2 separate regions of the Homo sapiens genome follow, and region 2 is linked to region 1. The links are contacts of gene promoters, found by promoter capture Hi-C in human tissues and cell types (Jung and others, 2019). All regions are on one chromosome and are shown on one strand. Each heading gives the region's core, a stretch centred on a gene start or on the middle of the fragment in contact. The rest is flanking DNA. Distances are from core to core; before and after follow the strand shown. Region 1 holds the start of LGALS3 (galectin 3). Region 2 has its middle 26 kb from the start of MAPK1IP1L.

What was found. Contacts are between HindIII fragments. The study calls those that stand out against the background at their distance.
Region 2: a fragment that was not itself captured here is called in contact with the fragment with the promoter of LGALS3 in region 1 in 2 of the 25 tissues and cell types used here (adrenal gland and small bowel).

The regions. Positions count from the first base shown.
Region 1 is chr14:55,127,909-55,131,532 of GRCh38, forward strand. It overlaps LGALS3 (galectin 3), which reads left to right and starts at 1,344. Exons shown (of 6, transcript NM_002306.4): 1 at 1,344-1,392. RefSeq lists a silencer at 1,040-1,639 and an enhancer at 1,990-2,179. The HindIII fragment of the contact is 8,667 bases long and covers 1-2,384 here.
Region 2 is chr14:55,075,953-55,079,566 of GRCh38, forward strand. No RefSeq gene overlaps it. Among named protein-coding and RNA genes, the nearest start is that of MAPK1IP1L, 26 kb to the left of the region's middle. RefSeq lists enhancers at 1,313-2,512, 1,431-1,930, 1,953-2,454, 2,455-2,956. The HindIII fragment of the contact is 3,721 bases long and covers 1-3,184 here.

The sequences.
Region 1 (3,624 bases), core at 94-2,593:
CCGTGCCAACCACTAAGACACTTTCAAGTTTATCCTAGAGAATGCCAAGACAGCTTCTCAATTCCATCAAGTGAGTCCTTCACAGGAACATTTCCCTAAGTTGAAAAACTGCAGGAAATAATTTATCTTTATGTTATTAATTGGTTACTATAAGGGCTACAGGAATTATTTAGGAACCAGATGATACCTGGTTTTCTCCATAGTTTACATAAGCCAGTCCCTGCAAAGATTCTTCCCCTACCCCCCTTAATTTTTTTTTTTTTCCTCAGAGATCCTTGTTCCAACCTGCAAGGATTCTTTGGCCTGGTGCTTTTCCAGGTAAAGTGTAAGAGCCAGGATTTCTGGATTTTGTTCCTAGACATGAGTGAGCTTGGATAAGTAAATCATTTTCTCTTTTAGTCTGTTTGGGCTTCTGTAACAAAATATCATAAACTGGGTAGCTTATAGGCAATATACATTTATTTCCCACAGTTCTGAAGGTCGGGAAATCCAAGATCCAGGCCAGCAGATTTGATGTCTGGTGAGGGCCTGCTTTCTGGTTCACAGAGGGAGCCTTCTGGCTGTGTCTTCACAAGGTGGAAGTGGCAAGGGGTCTCTCTCCGGCCTCTTTTATTAGGGCACCAATCTCATTCATAAGGACCCTGCCCCTATGACCTAATCACTTCCCAAGGCCTCCACTTCCTAATACATCACCGTGAGGGTTAGGATTTCAACATATGAACTTTGGCGGGATATAAACATTCAGACTATAGCACCCTGACAGTAAAAATGAGATAATAATACTTATCTCTTTCTTCCAACAAAAAGATAAGGTGAAGTTAAAAGGAGGGTATATATATATATAATGTGAATTTCCTGTGTAAAATGTGTTAAAGAGTTGTCTGATTAATTGCTTTATAAGGGAATTGCTTTGAGACTAGGCCTATTGATCTAGAATAAGTAGTCAATTTGTAGTCAGTTCCCTAGGGAATAGACATTGAAAAGATTTTTGGTTTTGTATTCTACAAATAAAGCAACCTATTAATTGAATTCCTCTCAGCGAATTCTTCACTCAGGTGATTCTGGAGAGGGCGGGGGACAGACGCGGCCGCAGCCCAGGTCCCGGGAGCGCCACGGAACCTAACGGTGGCAGCGGAGGTCGCGCCCCTCAGTGCCCGCGCTCTCCCCGTCGGGAGCTTCCTGGTCGCCCCTGCGGCGGCGGCTCGGGGTGTCTGGCCGGCGCGGGGCTCGCCCAGCCTGGTCCGGGGAGAGGACTGGCTGGGCAGGGGCGCCGCCCCGCCTCGGGAGAGGCGGGCCGGGCGGGGCTGGGAGTATTTGAGGCTCGGAGCCACCGCCCCGCCGGCGCCCGCAGCACCTCCTCGCCAGCAGCCGTCCGGAGCCAGCCAACGAGCGGTGAGCTGCGCGGGGCGCGGGGGACGCGGCTCCGGCCGGGCAGGGGAGAGGGCGCCCGGGCGCTGCTTGGGGCGCGGTCCGGAGAGGGTTCGGCTCCCCGGGACCGGGCCGGGGCGCGCGCGGAGAGCCCCACAGCCTGTGCTCTGCCCTCCAGGAGCGGGGCGGCGGGCAGCGATCTGGGCCCGGGGCAGTCGCCTTTGATTATCGAGGGCGCTGGCGTTCGGGGAAGGTTGGCAGCACCTTACGAGACCCACACACGTCCCCGGGGCGGCACGGGCCACCTTCTGCGGAGCCTCGTGGGCTTCGCCGCCGTCGCACCTCCGCCGCCTGCGCTCTGCGGCCCCAGAGTAAGCCCCATCCGGTGACGAGCCGCAGTCTGGTCACCCCAGTCCCACCAGGTCCCGCTGCGAGGGGAGGCGGAGGGGCTCGCTCAGCAAACCAGACGGCCGCTCCAGTTTCTCTAATTGGGGTTGGAGCCCCGTCACCCTTCCCCAGATCACGGCCGCGGGGGAGCGAAGGGACTTCCCAGGACTGCATAGGGCGCCTCCCGGGACCCACAGCTTGGCTGGCCCGGCCCCTTTTGAGCATCAGCTGAGGCTGGACTTGGAGGAGATCTCGCTGTGGAGCGCGAATGAGTTCTTCCACCGGGACCAGCTGCGGCCGGGCTGCAGCCGCTGTCTGGTTGCTGATCCCACAGAAAATGGTGCTTGCCCCATGGCCTGAGTGGGCATGACCCGGCTTTGCAAAGACTGCAAACTCTAAGCTTTTCCGAATCAAATGCCCCTCCCTGCCCAGACTGTCTGTGCCCAGGAAATGGTGGGTGTGGCAAAATGTTGGTCCTAGCGTGCAGAGCCCTACCGGGGGGCTTTCACAACATGTTTGAGAGTTTATTCTGAATTATCGGGTGCTCAAATAGAAACACTAAAACGATTGCCCTCTGAGCAGTAGGCGTTCAGGTCCAGGGAGTCGGGGACGCATGGTGGAGGCTGGGACTTAGGTTTCAGCCTTACCCTTCAAGTTCGCCATGCGGGTTCCAGAGACTGCGGAATGTTTGTAAAGTGACTCTGGGAATTGGGTTGCTGCGCAATGAGGACACCTGGACCTCAGTGACTCAGGCTGTCTCTAGGATTCTGGGGAAGAAATGGGAGAAGGCTCAGTTAATTCTGAAGAAAATGAGACTGATACAATTAACTACTTGGGCACAGGGCCTGAGAAGAAAAAGCTTTCGTCAGCTTCCAAAGTTCTGATTTGTTTACCTAAGGTTTTTTTTTTTTTTGAGACGCAGTTTCGCTCTTGTTGCCCAGGCTGGAGTGCAACGGCACTATCTCGGCTCACCGCAACCTCTGCCTACCGGGTTCAAGCGATTCTCCTGCCTCAGCCTCCCGAGTAGCTGGGATTACAGGCATGCGCCACCATGCCCGGCTAATTTTGTATTTTTCGTGGTGGTGGTGGTGGGGGGGGGGGGGTCCCTCCATGTTGGTCAGGCTGGTCTCGAACCCCCGACCTCAGGTGACCCGCCTGCCTCGGCCTCCTAAAGTGCTGGGATTATAGGCGTGGGCCACTGCGCCTGGCCTACCTCAAGTTTATAAACATTTCATACTAGGAAATTGTGTGTTTCCATAAAAGGTAAAGTTGAATAATGATCATTTACTTTTCTACAACAATAGTCTCCCTTTTAGACATTGACTCTCAATCCTTAGGGTAGGGTCTCTCATTCTAAAGATGATCATACCCCATCCTTGATCTTTGGGGGACTTAAGCAACTTCCTAAATTCATAATATTTAGAGGTGATGTTTAAAATCAGCACTTAGTCCAGATTCTGGGGAGAAGTTTGATGATGGTCCTTGAATATTTAGCACTTAGAAGTGCTAGGAGGATGCCTCACTAAGTTACGTAAGAAGCAGAAGAGGACGAGTACCGCCTGATGGATTGACCCCGAAAACTAGCTGTGTCCAAGTAGAATAGGTGTCTCGCTCTGTTAAGCGGTCTTTAAACTATGATAGTTCGCTGTACTACAAATATGCATAGGTGCTTTACAAAGACTTTTCACTTAGTGAGGTCAAGAGGCTAATGCTGGTCTCATGTATAATTTAGGTACCTTTTTACATAGAACCCTCATTAGCCAGACTCTAAACCTTAACTGCAGCCAAGACCTTTGTTCATGTAGTATGCCTTCAGAATCTCGTGTTGACCTTAAATGCCAAGTGGCTTGTAAACTTATGTACTTGATA
Region 2 (3,614 bases), core at 74-2,573, 52 kb before region 1:
CTTCCCAGTAGTCCACTCAGTCTAGTGTCCTGTCTGACAATGGCATCCAGAAATGTTTTTGTGAAAGAGCATAACTGGGTCATAAACCCAGCATGCCAGACCCAGCTCTGCACCAATGGGGAGGCAATTGTCAAGCATTCAATTGTGTAAAGCATTATGTTGAGCCAGTACAACAAGAATCGCAGAATAAAGATAGCCCCACAAATACGGAAGACAATAGGGATGGTATTTTTCACTGTGCTATTAGGGAGAAAAATGAGAAAAACATAATTAGAGTGAGGACAGAGGCAGCGTAGTATAGAGGTAGAGAGCAGGCTGGGCGTGGTGTCTCACGCCTGTAATCCCAGCATTTTGGGAGGCTGAGGTGGGAGGATCACTTGAGGTCAGGAGTTTGAGACCAGCCTGGCCAACGTGGTGAAACCTCATCTCTACTAAAAATACAAAAATTAGCTGGGCGTGGTGGTGCGTGCCTGTAGCGCCAGCTACTTGGGAGGCTGAGACAGAAGAATTGCTTGAACCTGGGAGGCGGAGGTTGCAGTGAGCCGAGATAGTGCTACTGCACTCCAGCCTGGGCGACACAGCGAGACTCCATCTCAAAAAAAAAAAAAAAAAAAAAAACAAAAGAAAACAAACAAACAAACAAAAACAGAGGTAAAGAGCACAGGTTCTGGAACCTGGCCAGCTGTGTTTAAATCGTGACTCCACTGCTTACTACATAGATCACACTGGCTGAATTACTTAACCTTGTAGTGCCTTTGCTTATTCAGCTATAAAATGAGGGCCGGGCGTGGTGGCTCACGCCTGTAATCCCAGCACTTTGGGAGGCCGAGGCGGGCGGATCACCTGAGGTTAGGAGTTTGAGACCAGTCTGGCCAACGGGGTTTCAACCCCATCTCTGCTAAAAAATATAAAAATTAGCTAGGCGTGGTGGTGGGCACCTGTAATCCCAGCTACTCGGGAGGCTGAGGCGGGAGAATCACTTAAACCCAGGAGGTGGAGGTTGCAGTGAGCCACGATCACGCCATTGCACTCCAGCCTGGGCAACAAAAATGAAACTCCACACAAAAAAATAAAAAATAAAATAAAATGAGGATTACACTCATGCCTAACTCCACAGGGTTACGAGAATTAAATGAAGTCATCCATGTGAAGCAGTTGGCACCTGACATCAGATGTGAGCTTATCATGGGAGCTGAAAGGCATTTTTCTAGGTATTGGGCCTACAAGAGTGTTACAGTTTAGCAGAAGAAACAGAAAAATAGGCAGGTGTGATGTTACTGATGCAGGAGGCACGGATTGCTCTGAGTACACCCGAGGAGCACCTAATAGTGAAACAGCTACCATTTGTTGAACACTAGTGATGTCTCAGACAGTCACCCACATGCTTTGTTTTCTGTTTTCTCCCTTAGCAATGCCCTATAAGCCCCGCCCCTTACCCAAGGCCTTTACTCACACTCACTGTGTCCTCACAACAACATAAGCAAGGGGTAAAAATTCACAGCCTGTGGAGTGCAGAGCCATGCTCTTTCCCCTTTATCACGCAGGGCACCATTAATATTTTAAGGCACTTCAGAAAAAGACCTGTCTCGGAGAAAGAGAGTCCAAAAGAACATCTGTCTCCTCACCTCACGCTACTTTGCACCTGGCCATATTTCCAAATCAATTCCACACCCTGTTTGAAAGCAGCTCACCTTGGGGATGGATTAGAAAAATCGCAAGCCCCAGGCCTGGGTATGTGAGTGAGTTTCGGCAACAGATGAAGGGCAGGCAGGCGCCCCGTCTGGGGAGGAAGTCCAGTGTCACAATTGTACCTCTGAGTAGCTGTGTTCCCAACATTCCAGAGAACAGCTCCACCCTGGAACAGCTTTCATGAGTTATCCGCACTGACGTCAGCCACATACCTGTGAACACGACTTGCTTCTTGGCTGCCCACAGCTGCACTATTCCTTCTTGCTGGGTTTTGGGAGTACACATGAGCTATTCATTACAGAGTTTCAGGCCCACTAGCAACTCTGAATACCTCATATTCTAAAAGAGCACGGCTTTTCCCAGCTCATTTGGGATTACATGAGAGATTAGCCTGTGTCCACGAAGGCCAACAACTACTCTGACTGGGGAATCGGCAAGAGAAGGCTTCCTGGAATGAGTCTCGAGGGATTTGAGCTTTGGACAAAGGAGTTGATAAGATTTTGTCCTAGGACAAAGAAAGATAGAACAGGCCTAAGATAAATGAGCAAAGATATTTTAGCACCTAGGTTTTAGTCGTTCAACTTACTGGTATGTATGTATTTATTACTTATTTTTATTTATTTTTTTGAGACGGAGTCTCACTTTGTCACCCAGGCTGGAGTGCAGTGGCACAAGCTTAGCTCATTGCAACCTTTGCCTCCCGGATTCAAGCAATTCTCCTGCCTCAGCCTCCCGAGTAGCTGGGATTACACAGGCACCTGCCACCACACCTGGCTAATTTTTGTATTTGTAGTAGAGATGGGGTTTCACTCCATGTTGGCCAGGCTGGTCTCAAACCCCTGACCTCAGGTGATCTGCCCGCCTCAGCCTCCCAAAGTGTTGGGATTACAGGTGGGAGCCACTGCGCCTGGCCTATTTATTTTTTATTTATTTATTTTATTTTATTAGATGGAGTCTCGCTCTGTCGCCAGGCTGGAGTGCAGTGGTGCAATCTCAGCTCACTGCAACCTCCACCTCCCGGGTTCAAGCAGTTCTCCTGCCTCAGCCTCCTGAGTAGCTGGGACTACAGGTGCGTACCACCATGCCCAGCTAATTTTTGTATTTTTAGTAGAGATGGGGTTTCACCATGTTGGCCAGGATGGTCTCGATCTCTTGACCTCATAATCCGCCTGCCTCAGCCTCCCAAAGTGCTGGGATTACAGGTGTGAGCCACTGTGCCCGGCCTATTTATTTTATTATTATTATTTCTGGGGGACAAGGTCTTGCCCTGTCACCCAGGCTGGAGTGCAGTGGCTCGATCATAGCTCACTGCAGCCTCAAACTCCCTGGCTCAAGCGATACTCCCTCCCACCTCAGCCTCCTGAGTAGCTAGGGCTACTGGTGTGAGCAACTAACTGGTATTTTTTTACTACTTACTCTGTGCCACATCCTGGAAATTCAATACTGAACAAGTTAAATGGTTTCTGCCCTTGTGTAGTTTACAAGCTAGTGGAAGAGACAATCACTAAATAATATAAATTACATTTGTAATGAGCGATGGGGAAATAATGTGTAACAGTATTCTGGAGTCAAGGAAAGCTCACCAGAGGAAATGACATTTGAGCTGAAATTTGACAGCTGAGCAGGATTCAGGCTGGAGATATGCTTAGGGAAGGGTGCAAGAAGAGACTGCAAAAAGGGCAAGGGGGAGAGACAATCCTGTATGCAGGATGGTATGGGTCAGGAGCAGCAATACCTGCCTATATGTTGATAGTGTTGGGGCCAGAGGATGTGAAACGGAGCATGATAGGGTAGAAGACCTATGATTGGCTCTGTTTCTGTCCCTATATTCTGTCTACTAGATTAAGTTAGCTGTTCTCCCATCTACAATACAGAGAGCTCCAATAAACTCAGTTTTAAGTTTTAGGATCCCTTGGCTCTCCAGG